4 separate regions of the Homo sapiens genome follow, and regions 2, 3 and 4 are each linked to region 1. Evidence: promoter capture Hi-C in 16 types of primary human blood cells and fetal thymus (Javierre and others, 2016). All regions are on one chromosome and are shown on one strand. Each heading gives the region's core, a stretch centred on a gene start or on the middle of the fragment in contact. The rest is flanking DNA. Distances are from core to core; before and after follow the strand shown.

Evidence for each region. The method cuts DNA at HindIII sites, captures the fragments that hold promoters and counts their contacts. A CHiCAGO score of 5 or more calls a contact.
Region 2: a contact is called between a fragment that was not itself captured here and the fragment with the promoter of INTS9 in region 1, in 2 of 17 cell types (total B cells and naive B cells). The highest score is 8.2, in total B cells.
Region 3: a fragment that was not itself captured here is called in contact with the fragment with the promoter of INTS9 in region 1 in 1 of 17 cell types (total B cells); the score reaches 6.4 in total B cells.
Region 4: a contact is called between a fragment that was not itself captured here and the fragment with the promoter of INTS9 in region 1, in 4 of 17 cell types (naive B cells, total B cells, endothelial precursors and 1 more). The highest score is 7.1, in naive B cells.

What each region holds. Positions count from the first base shown.
Region 1 is chr8:28,888,441-28,891,447 of GRCh38, forward strand. It overlaps INTS9 (integrator complex subunit 9), which reads right to left and starts at 1,529. Exons shown (of 17, transcript NM_018250.4): 1 at 1,434-1,529. The coding sequence starts at 1,442. It overlaps HMBOX1 (homeobox containing 1), which reads left to right and starts at 1,955. Exons shown (of 10, transcript NM_001135726.3): 1 at 1,955-2,238. RefSeq lists enhancers at 1,312-1,868, 1,508-1,707, 1,869-2,425 and a silencer at 2,078-2,197. The HindIII fragment of the contact is 2,854 bases long and covers 587-3,007 here.
Region 2 is chr8:29,096,266-29,099,272 of GRCh38, forward strand. It overlaps KIF13B (kinesin family member 13B), which reads right to left. Exons shown (of 40, transcript NM_015254.4): 36 at 2,868-2,976. Among named protein-coding and RNA genes, the nearest start is that of KIF13B, 170 kb to the right of the region's middle. The HindIII fragment of the contact is 3,073 bases long and covers 21-3,007 here.
Region 3 is chr8:29,080,081-29,083,087 of GRCh38, forward strand. All of the region lies in intron 37 of KIF13B (kinesin family member 13B), which reads right to left. Among named protein-coding and RNA genes, the nearest start is that of KIF13B, 180 kb to the right of the region's middle. RefSeq lists an enhancer at 45-608. The HindIII fragment of the contact is 7,261 bases long and covers 1-3,007 here.
Region 4 is chr8:29,021,052-29,024,058 of GRCh38, forward strand. The region is part of intron 6 of HMBOX1 (homeobox containing 1); the gene reads left to right. The region is part of intron 2 of LOC105379346 (a long non-coding RNA gene); the gene reads right to left. Among named protein-coding and RNA genes, the nearest start is that of HMBOX1, 130 kb to the left of the region's middle. The HindIII fragment of the contact is 6,270 bases long and covers 1-3,007 here.

The DNA.
Region 1 (3,007 bases), core at 279-2,778:
GGAGACTGACGCGGCGAGAGGATCGCTTGAGTCCGAAAGGTGGAGGTAGCAGCGAGCTGAGAACGCGCCACTGCACTTCAGTCTGGGCCCCACAAAGCCAGACCCTGTCTCTAAATAAATAAATAATAACTTTGGTTTACTTTTCTATCTTCTTCTTAGGTTGCATGCTTCTGTAGGGCAACGGCTATGACTTTTAATTCTGCATTATTAAATGTGTAACACACTGACCCAGGGGTAAGTTGCTATTCTCAAGGTTTAGTGACCCGCATCCTTCCCCTTATATAAACAGATTTATACGGGGACAATTTCGGAATTGAATCCACTTTTAATACTTTCTCTGACTTCGCAGAAAACAGCTGGCTTTGCAGAATATATGCCTGTAGCACAATGATTATCAAGATGAGGGTAGGTGTGTTGTGTGGTTTGGCAAAGCATGTTCAGATAATTATATAAATGGTAAAAAATAAACTTTTTTTTTTTTTGAGACAGAGTCTCGCGCTGTTGCAAGGCTGGAGTGCAGTGGCGCGATCTTGGCTTACTGCAACCTCTGCCTCCCGGGTTCAAGCGATTCTCCTGCCTCAAGTAAAGCTTGACAATAACTTGGCTGCACAAATATGGGTTTTAAAAGGTTGAGAAACAGTGTTTCACACCTGCCTTTCTACACTATGTTATTAACTAATTGAATCGAGTTGGAATAAACTAGTTAGACTTGTGTGCACAATGAGTCAAATGGCTCAAATCAAAGGTCTGAGGAGCCTCCATGAACCAGGTGCTTGAGCTGTGTGATGTTAAGACTTCAGGTATACCGAGCACGCTTCATTCAGCCTTGGCTCATGAAGTCCCTACAGTCTTAGAATGGAATACCATATAACACTTCTCTGCCCATCTAAATCCCATGCAGGGTTTAAGACTCAACTTCTCCACACTCTGACCTCGTCCTGAATTCCAAGGGCAGTGAGGAGTCTATATAACAGGATATTTAATAAGTGATTACGTTCTGCTGGATGTTTTTTACTGTCTGCTTAAATCTAGCCAGTCTCAACAACAGTAGGGAGACAGGATACTCAAGCGCCAATCGAATGGAAACGGATTGTTAACAGCCTATTATAACCCTCACGTGGGAACCAGGACGTCCAAACCTGGTTAACAGAGCCCACAGAGTTCATGGGCGAAGGACTGTGACAGTCAACCTCTTGTCTGAACAAAAAGACCCACTAACGAGTGAAAAAAGACCTCCTGGGAGGGATGGGGTGGGGGAGAGGGAATTCAAACCTTCTCAACAACAAAAAGCAGCTTTCCTTAGCCCACTCCACTTTCCAGCTCAATAATTGCTACCCCTCCCGTGCGACGATTCCCTGCCCAACGTAGGAAAAAAAGAGGTCCAAAAGGTTATAGCATCACCTTTGCCCTCTGACCTAGGAGCGAAGACTCACCAGTTTCATAATGGACTTTTGGTGGTTCAATAGCAGTCACTGAACTCCTCAAACCCAGGAAGCGTCTTCCGGTGCAATCTCCGCCACCTGCCAGCCGAGAGCATCGCGGGACTTGCAGTCTTTCATCCTCACGTCCCTTCCAGGGGAATAATGGGAAATGTAGTCTCCCCTCCAGGCATCATGGGAACTGTGGTCGCCTTTCCTTTTCCTCCCTTTCCTCTCCGAACGCCTCCTTCCGTCAGCTCAAATTCATCCCAGCCGCCAATGCATCCTCCCTCTCCACCCCAGCATGATATCATGTCTTCCTTACGGGCCTGGGGCCCATGGTGTTCTGGGATGTGTAGTCCCGACGGCTCCGACTCCCCTTTCCCTCCTCCCAAAGGGAAGGCGGATGGGCACGGGGCTTGCCGGAAGTTGTAGTTCCCTTGGCCCTCTAGGCGCCGGGCTCCGCAATTTTTCTCAGGGGAGGCAGGAACTACAACTCCCAGGGACGCCCGGCGGCAGCAGGTGGGAGAGGGGCTGTTGATATCAATATGGCGGTTGTCAGCCAGACAAAGACAGTCAGTCTGATGTGATTGAGACAAGGGAGGTTTTTCAGGGGGAGACTGGGAGATAGGGGCCTCCCCTCCCCCTTCTCCTCTTCCTGCGCCGGCCTCAACCCCTCCCCAGTCCCCTCCCGACGGGCGCCCCACGCGGAAGACACCCCTCCCCCTCCCGCCTTCCCTCCTCCCTATCTCAGCCCTTCGTACTGGGACGTTGGGGAGGGGGCTGTGCCGGGCGGAGAGAACTCAGCGAGGATTCTGAGGTGAGTCGAGCGGTTTTGAAGCCGGACTACCTCAAGTCTCTTTCCTCACTTCTTTCTCTTCACTTAAAACAATTTTTTTGGAGGGGTTTTGGGGAGGAAGTGAGCGGACGCTGGGGATGGGTCTCGTAAGCGGCCGGATTGAGAGGAGGGAGGAAGCAGGGGGCTTCCGAGTGGGTGACCCAGACGCGGGCTGTGGGGTGGGGCAGTTCGTGGGGTCCGGTCCTGGAAAGGCGTCGACTGCCCCCCAACTCTTCTGGTTTCCTCTACGATGAGCGGAAGGTTTGAATCCTGGAGGTGGGGTCTCCGGTGTGGAGTTCTGGAAACTGTGAGGTGATTTGCAGGTGTGTTGGTTTGTTTGGGGTGTGTAAGTGTGTTTAAACTGTGTGACGTGTACTTGTGTGCTCTGCTCGTCTTGGAGCGGTGTCTGTAGATGGGAAGTTAGACAGCGCGAGTCCTCGCTCGCTCTGGGCCTGGGCTGAGGGGCGGGCGTGAGGTCCTGGTGCTGGGCGTTTGGGCTGGCGACGTGGTGCGAGGCGGCCGGGCTCAACAACTCGCTTGTGTCCCGTCGCCCGCTCACACTCTGCCACTCGCCTCCGCCCCCTCCCCTGGACGAATCTCCACCCCAAACTCCAGCCACGAGAACTGTAGAGATGGTGTGATGTGGAGATGGATTTTTTGCATCCTCAAGTCGGTAGATAGGTGGGAAAGGAAAAGTGTTTCTTAATATTTTATTCCGGAACCGTGTTTTGGTTACACTATTGGGGCTACT
Region 2 (3,007 bases), core at 307-2,806, 210 kb after region 1:
AAGCCACTGCACCCAGCCCAAGCTTTTCTTTTTTTTTTTTTTTTTTTTTTTTGAGAAAGGATCTCACTCTGTCGCCTAGACCTGAGTACAGTGATGCAATTGTGCCTCACTGCAGCCTCAACCTCCCAGGTTCAGGTAATTCTCCCACTTCAGCCTCCTGAGTAGAGGGACTACAAGTGTGTACCACCACGCTCAGCTGATTTTTGTATTTTTTTGTGGAGATGGGGTTTTGCCATGTTGCCCAGGCTGGTCTCAACTAACCCACACCTAGGCCTCCCAAAGTGCTAGGGCTACAGGTGGGAGCTACCGCACCCGGCCTACAGGTGGCTATTTTAAAGCAAAAAGAATAACGTCATAAAGTGAGGTTTGAATACCTATATATGTAGAAGATGAAACAACAGTACAAAATGAGGGGCCCAGAGGAACAGGTCAATGACTTACACTGTTGCATGGTTCCTGTATTTGTGAGGTGAGGGGTGACGTCATATGAACTCTAAGCGATTTGATAAGTTAAGGATGCCAAGTAGGGTTTCTGAGCAAAGACTTTAGCAAACAAATACAGGTGTCCAAAAAAGCAAAAAGAGGAAATAAAATGAGATACTAATTTTTGTTTATTAACCCAAAAGAAGGTAAATAAGGAGTTACAGTGAAACAAAAAACAGAATGGCCAAGCAGAAAACCAATAAAAATATGGCGGACCAGAATGGGAGGCAATGGAAGGGTTCGTGAAGCATGCCGATTGAAGGGCAGGAACTACGAGATGAGATTCAGGGGGAAATAACTGGACCCAACCAAATGTTGTCTACAAGGCAATCGCTTTTAATTTAAAGACAAACACAGGCTAAAATTTTAAAAGCCAAGAAAAAGATACATCGTGCAAACAGTAAATAAATTTGATGCAGTTATATATAAATGATAGGTAAGAGAGATTTCAAGGTAAGAGTATTCCCAGAGACAAAAGGGACATTTCATGATAGGCCACTCTATCAGGAAGATATAACAATCTTAAATGTGTTATATCAGGAAGATATAACAATCTTAAATAATTAGAAGCTAATTATCAGAGCTTCTAAATGAATGAAGTAAAAACTGGTATAAAGGGAAACACATATAATTTTCACAATTATATTTGGATATCTAATGCCCTCTCAAGAACTGATGGAATAGGCCTCCACCAAATCAGCAAAGATCCAGAGGATTTGAACAAGGCAATAAACCACAGTGACCTAATTAGATATACATAGAACATCATGTCCCCAAACACAATAGTGCACATAGAATATTAACCAAGATAGAACACAATCTGGAATACAGATTACCCCCAAAAATAAAAAAGAATTAATGCTAGTTGATAAGTCATGGATCAAAGAAGCAATCAGAGGGAAATTTTAAAATACTCTGAATAGAATGAAAATGAAAGCACAACATACCAAAATATGTGAAATGCAGAAAAATTTAAAAAATCAATTGCAATAGAAAAAGCCAAAAACTGGTTCTGAGATTAATATATATGATAAACCTGTCAGAAAAGTATTCAAAACAGATAATACAAATTATCAGTATCAGAATAAAAAGAAGGAACATCACAAGAGATCCTATAAGTATTTAAAAAATAAGGTAAAGTGGCCAGGTGCGATGGCTCATGCCTGTAATCCCAGCACTTTGGGAGGCCAAGGCCGGCAGATCACAAGGTCAGGAGATAGAGACCAACCTGGCTAACATGGTGAAACTCCGTCTCTACTAAAAATACAAAAAATTAGCTTGGCATGGTGGCACGTGCCTGCAGTCCCAGCTACTTAGGAGGCTGAAGCAGGAGAATCACTTGAACCCAGGAGGCAAAGGTTGCAGTGAGCCGAGATCGCACCACTGCACTCCAGCCTGGGCGACAGAGTCAGACTCCATCTCAAAAAAAAAAAAAAAAAAAAGTAAGTGATGTTTATGAAAATAAACTTAATAATCTAGATAAACTAAGAAACTCCTTGAAAAAAATATAACCTATGATAGGTGACTCAAAAGGAGACACAAAGATCTAAATATTCCCATACTAAATAAACTTGCCGGGTGCAGTAGCTCACGCCTGTAATCCCAGCACTTTGGGAGGCTGAGGCAGACAGATCACCTAAGATCAGGAGTTTGAGACCAGCCTGGCCAACGTGGTGAAACCCCATCTCTACTAAAAATGCAAAAATTAGCCAGGCGTGGTGGTGGGCGCCTGTAATCCCAGCTACTTGGGGGGCTGAGGCAGGAGAATCACTTGAACCTGGGAGGGGCAGGTTGCAGTGAGCCGAGATTGCACTACTGGACTCCAGCCTGGGTGACAGAGCAAGACTCTGTCTCAAAAAAAAAAAAAAAAAGAAACTCAAGTCATAATTTAAAATCTCCCCACAAAGAGGATTCCAGGCCCGGATCATGTAACTACGGAATTTCATGAAACATTTAAGGAAGAGGTAATACTAATCTTACATAAACTCTCCCAGAAAAAAAAAATGAGGAGAAACATTTCCCAAGTCGTTTTATGAAGCCAATGCAATCATAACAAAACCTAACAAAGACATGAAGATGAGAAGATAAAACATTACAGATATTTACTATAGAGCACATACACAAAAGTCCTTAAAAAAGAGGTGCAAAGAGATTCCAGCAATGTACGGCTAACACATCATGATCAGGCGGTATATATCAGAGCAATGCAAGATCAATCCAACATTCCAGAGCCAATGGAACTCAACCTGTTAAGAGGAGAAATGAAACAACTCGATGGACATTATCTAGCAGAACAGTGGCTGCCTGGCAGGAAATTCTAATTTAAACTTTCTGAAAGATGCTCAGATTTCTGACAGTAATTGACAAGTGAAAAGATAACTTACCTGGATCTGGAGAATGGTTATTTTGGGGAGAAACAGAGAGGGCGGGGGCAGGAGCTATTCCTCTGGAAACTGTGGTTTGGGATACATCCTGCTGACTTTCCCACCGGCCCTAGTAAAGACAAAATTGGCAATTTTGTTTC
Region 3 (3,007 bases), core at 281-2,780, 190 kb after region 1:
CCTGCAATCCCACCACTTTGGGAGGCTGAGGCAGGAAGATCACTTGAGCCTAGGAGTTCGAGACCAGCCTGGAAAACATGGAAAAACTCCATCTCTACAAAGATTAAATTAGCTGGGCGTGGTGGTGCACACCTATAGTCCGAACTACTTGGGAGCTGAGAATTGCTTGAGCCCAGAAGGTCGAGGCTGCAGTAAGCCATGATCATGCCACTCACTCACCCTGGGTGACAGAGTGAGACCCAGTCTCAAAAAAAAAAAAAAAAAAAAAACCAACCCAAACATTAAGCCTCAGCAATAATCTAATCAATAGAAACACTTTTCTAAGGTTGTCCTGACCAGGGGCCTGGAAGAGAGGAAAACGAAGAGTTCCGGGAGGCGGGCGGGGAGAACGTGTCCAGCCCTGGCCTGAAGCCTGTGAACCAGCCTCCGGCATGTGAGGCCTTCAGTGACCACCCTGTGCGCCTGGAGGCTCCAGACCCTGACAGGGTGATGTGGATAGAATATGTGAGCCATAACGGCACCAGCACTTTTGTCCATCTGGCAGGTATAGTTATTTTAAATGCATGGCTTGGCATTCTAACTTTTGTGTAAAAACCTGATCACCTCTGGGCTTCCACACCTATCTGCAAGGGGATGATCCCATCTACATGAGTTCTCTAAGCGGTGTCACCAGGGAAGCGGACTGGTGGCTGCCGACCCCCGCCCGAGCCACTGTGCCCCTGCCTGCCACATGCCCCTCCAAGCAGTGCCTCGAAGGACTCAACACCAGAAGGCAACCATGGGTTTCTGACCCACATGATAATCCCTGCTGAGGATTCTACCCGCACTCGAATAGCGTCTTCTAACTCCATTCTCTTCAAATCCACTTTCCAAACTACAGCTGGAGGGAGCTTTCCGAAAAACAAAAGTGACCATGTCCCATGTCGCTCGCCACCTTGCAGCTGCCAGGGTTTCCCACTGCAGCAGACAGGGAAACGCTGGCAGGTCCTGCATGGTGTATTTCTGCGGCTCGATCCGTCCCTCCTGCAAACGCTCTACTGATTGATTCATTCCACAAATACAATGACTTGGTTACTCTTAATCACTGTCAGTGAAATCTCTTACAGTCACACGTGAGCATTTAACCGTGCTTTCTCAACGGAAAGCTCAGTTCTGCCACTCCTGAGGCTCTGTAACCTGAGACAGGTGTGCACCCTCCCCATTTCCCCAACAGGGCAGCAGCCCTGACATGGCAGCCACCAGCCACTGGTGGTGACCCAGCACTGAGAATGAGGCTAATGTGACTCAGAAAGTCCATTTTTTATTTTAATTAATAAAGCATAACCTTAAACACTGAAATGCTTTTAAGTATGTTTAGAACAGCCTCGGCATGTGGGTCTGCTTTTTCAACCATAAATTTTATGAATTCTAAATGCAGATCAAGTATTTCCGACGGAACTTTAGTGTCTGAATTGCAATGTGCTAGAAATGTAAAATACACACCTGATTTCAAGGACTTTGTACAGAAAGAAGGATGGGAATATCTCAACCTTTTTTTATACTACAGTTGATATGACAGTATTTTCAATACACTAGGTTAAACAAATGTTATTAAAATTAATCTGACCTGTATTCTTTTTACTTCCTTAAACGTGGCTACTAGGAAATTGTAACTTGCATACATGGCTCGCATTATGTATCTATTGCATGGTGCTTGTCTAACTCAGTCGTGTTGTTGAGATGGCACATTAAAATTCCTGGTGTGGTGCCAGGTATGCTGGAAGCTCTCGACACATTTGTAAAGTACTTCATTGGAATTTTGTGTCTGGTCTTCCTGGATATTTCTAAGTTGGCTTACTAAAAGTACATGTTTAAACAGTCAATAATTTCATCTGATCTAGAAATCACAAGTTTCAAATTAACTGAATCAGTCCCAAAGTCATTCCAAGATGAATTCCACTTTCTTTCAAACAAAGAACCTAAGATTTCATTTATTTACTCATTCGCAAATATGTACCAGGTACCTACTACATTCTAAAGACTGTGGTAGGCACTGGGGGTGCAGTGTGAGCAAAACTAGTCCCTGTGCTCCTCAAAACTAGGCACTCAAGGTCTAACATTTATATTCCTATTTAATTTCAGTTACACAAAACAATTAAAAGGCCTATTTTTCCTATCAACAAGTAAATTATTTTATCACTGCCTATAAGTGAATGACACCATTCACATGGTCTATAAGACATTAGATATGTATTATAGTCTAACTTATTCTAAGTACTATATAAATAAAATCTTAAATACTAGTATTTCCAGAGTTACTGGAAAAGATATCGCTTCTGATTTTTAGTATCTAGCCAGTTTACTTTACAAACTTCCACATAACAGCCTGGGCAACATACCAAGGCCTCATTTTTACAAAAAAAAAGTTTTTAATTAGCCAGGCATGGTAGCACACTCCTGTGGTCCCAGCTACTCGAGAGGCTGAGACAGGAGGACTTGCGCCCAGGAGTTCGAAGCTGCAGTGAGCTATGATCACATCACTGCACTCCAGCCTGGGCAACAGAGCAAGACCTTGTCAGAAAAAATAAATTAAAAAAAAATAAAACTTCTACATAATACTTAAAACTGATTTAAGCGTTCATATAAGAAAATTCTACACATATATTTTAAAAGATAGAATGCTCACTTCATCCAAAAAGAGTTACTAGTTTTTCAAGTGTCCATGAAGGATTAAGGATGCTTAAAGAATGTTTGCTAATCTGAAAACTTTAAAAATAGGGTCTTGTTGGGCAGAGTGGTTCACACACATAATCCCAGCACTTCCGGAGGCTGAGGCAGGAGGATTGCTTGAGCACAGCAATTCAAGACCAGCCGGTGTGACATAGGGAGACCCCGTCTCTACAAGATCAAAATTTAAAAATTAGCCAGCCATGGCGGTGTACACCTGTAGTCTCAGCTACTTGGGAGGCTGAGATGGGAGAATCACTTGAGCCCAGGAGGTCAAAGCTGCAATGAGCCATGATCACAC
Region 4 (3,007 bases), core at 144-2,643, 130 kb after region 1:
GCATTCCTAGCTACTCAGGAGGCTGACATGAGAGGATTGCTTGAGCCCAGGAGTTTGAGGTTACAGTGAGCTATGATTGCACCACTGCACCCCAACCTGGGCGACATAGTAAGATCCTATCTCAAAAATTAAAATGAAATTTTAAAAAAGTAAAAAATTATTCCATTCTTCATACATCAAGATAAATTTCAAATGAGTCAAAGAAGTGAATCCATATAAATAATAGAAGAAAACATGAGTGGTCCCTTCATATCCTGGCAATGGGAAAAATATTTCCTAACCATGACCCAAAATCTAAAAACAATAAAGGAAAAGATTGATAAATATGATTACATAAATTAAAAGAAAAACTTTGGAGGGAGTAAAAGCTGAGCAAAGTAAAAGACAAATTGGAAAAAAAAATTGCAACTTTTATTATCCCTAATAAAGAGCTCTTAAAAGACCAATAACTCTATCTTTATTGGGCTAAAGATAGGAGAAAAAATGCAAATGGTCCTTGAACATATGAAAATATGCTCAATCGGCCAGGCGCGGTGGCTCATGTCTGTAATCCCAGCACTTTGGGAGGCCGAGGCGGGCGGATCACGAGGCCAGGAGATCGAGAGCATCCTGGCTAACACAGTGAAACCCTGTCTCTACGAAAAATAGAAAAAAAAAAATTAGCCGGGCGTGGTGGCGGGCACCTGTAGTCCCAGCTACTCGGGAGGCTGAGGCAGGAGAATGGCATGAACCCAGGAGGCAGAGCTTGCGGTGAGCCGAGATCGTGCCACTGCACTCGAGCCTGGGTGACAGAGCGAGACTCCGTCTCAAAAAAAAAAAAAAAAATGCTCAATCTAATTGATAGTAAGAGAAATTCAAATTAAAACTACATTGAGATACTATTCTTCACTTATTACATTGACAAAAATCCAAAAGTTTGGCAACATTTTATATTGATTGGGCTGTAGAGAAACAGACACTCTCATACGTTACTTGTAGAAATGCAAAATGAAACAACTTAATGGAAGGGAATTCGGCAATATCAAGGAAAATTACCTATGAGTTTACCCTTTGACTTGACATTCCTACTTCTAGAAAATTATCTTAGGGCCAGTGGGTCACACCTGTAAATCCCAACCTTTTGGGAGGGCTGAGGTGAAAGAACCACTTGAGGCCAGGAGTTTGAGACTAGCCTAGGCAACATAGTGAGACCCCATCTCTATAAAAAATACAAAAAATTAGCAAGGCGTGGTAGGGCATGCCTGTAGTCCCAGCCACTCGGGAGGCTGAGGCAGGAGGATTGCTTGAGCCCAGGAGTTTGAAGCTGCAGTGAGCTATGATCACACTACTGCACTTCAGTCTGGGTGACAGAGAAAGACCCTATCTCAAGAAGAAAAAGAAGAATCTTAAAGATATACTGGCAAAAATATGAAAAGATAACAGCACTGTTTTTACTAATTTCAAAATACAGAAGATGACCTAAATGTCTATTTGTAGTAACTATGTCAATAAATTATAGCACATCCATGTATTGGATGTTGAAACCCATGTAGTGGAGTACTATGCAGCTAAAGAACAAAAAACTCTGTATACAGTGATCTCCAGGATATAACATTAAGTTTAAAACAAGGCAGAATCAACTGTATATAATACAAAGCTGTCATTTATGTATTTGCTTATAACTTATTTTAAAATGGAGGAATAAACCATAAAATAAATGGTTATCAATAAAAGAGAAACAACTTAGAAGAGAGGTAGAAGCTAGATTTCTCGGAAAATACTTTGTTTTGACCTGTAACTAAATTACGTAATTATATATCAAAATTTAAAATCAGGGAAAAAATGGGGGGGAGGGGGGGAGGTGACCTTTAAAAAATAACTAAAATTAAACCTGTATATCAAAATAGTGCCTTAAACACCCAAGAATTATCTCAAATGTGTTTATAACACAGTAATTTCCTATACTTCCCAAGTGGGAAACAGCTTAAGAATAAAAAGAAACACCAAAAAAATCTTACACTGTTTCTACTAAATTTGGTATTATAGATACTGCTATTCAGGTACTATTTTTATTTACATAGCTAGATAGGTATAGATATAGATGTAGGTACAGATAAAACAAATAGTCATATTAGAGTTATTAGGAACCAAGATTGTCAGTGCAAAGGAAAAGAGAAATATAAAATCAAAAGATTTAAATAAAATACTGTAGTCTTCTGTATGTTTGCATAGAGATAGAAATTTATCTTGATTTAAAAAAAACAGCCTTAATGAGATACAATTCATCTATTTAAAGTGTACAATTTAATGCTTTTTAGTATATTCACAGAATTATGCAACCATAACCTCAGTCAATTTTAGAACATGTTTATCAGCTCCCTTCCCTTTTTGAGACAGGGTCTTGCTCTGTTGCCCAGGCTGGAGTTCAGTGGCATGATCATAGCTCACCACAGCCTCAACCTCCTGGGCTCAGGTCTTTCTCCCATCTCAGCCTCCTGAGTAGCTGGGACTACAGGCATGTGCCACCATGCCTGGCTAATTTTTATATTTTTGTAGAGACAGAGTTTTGCCATGTTGCCTAGGCTGGTATTGAACTCCTGGGCTCAAGAGATCCACCTGCCTCAGTCTCCTACAGTCCTGGGATTATAGGTGTGATCCACCGCTACAGCCCCAATTTTAGTAACCATAAGATTGATCAGTGAATTCAGTGTTACCTTCTTGATTCACTTATTAAAAAATCCCCTATTAACCATCTACCTAATAGTTTTAGAGCATTGATTATTAAATCTGGATGCATATTAGGATCACCCGAGGAGCTTTTAAAACTATCAGGGGGCTTCACCCCTGATGGACTGAATCTTAATCTCTGGGTGTAGAGCCTAGGCAGAGATATATTTTGAAAAGTTTCCAAGTGATTCTGAAGTGTAGGCTGGACTGAGAATCACTGTTTTGTTATCTATCGACGATTGTTTCCCAATCATTTTTCCATAAGGAGTCACAAGTTGTTGTATTGAAATTTATTTCTTGT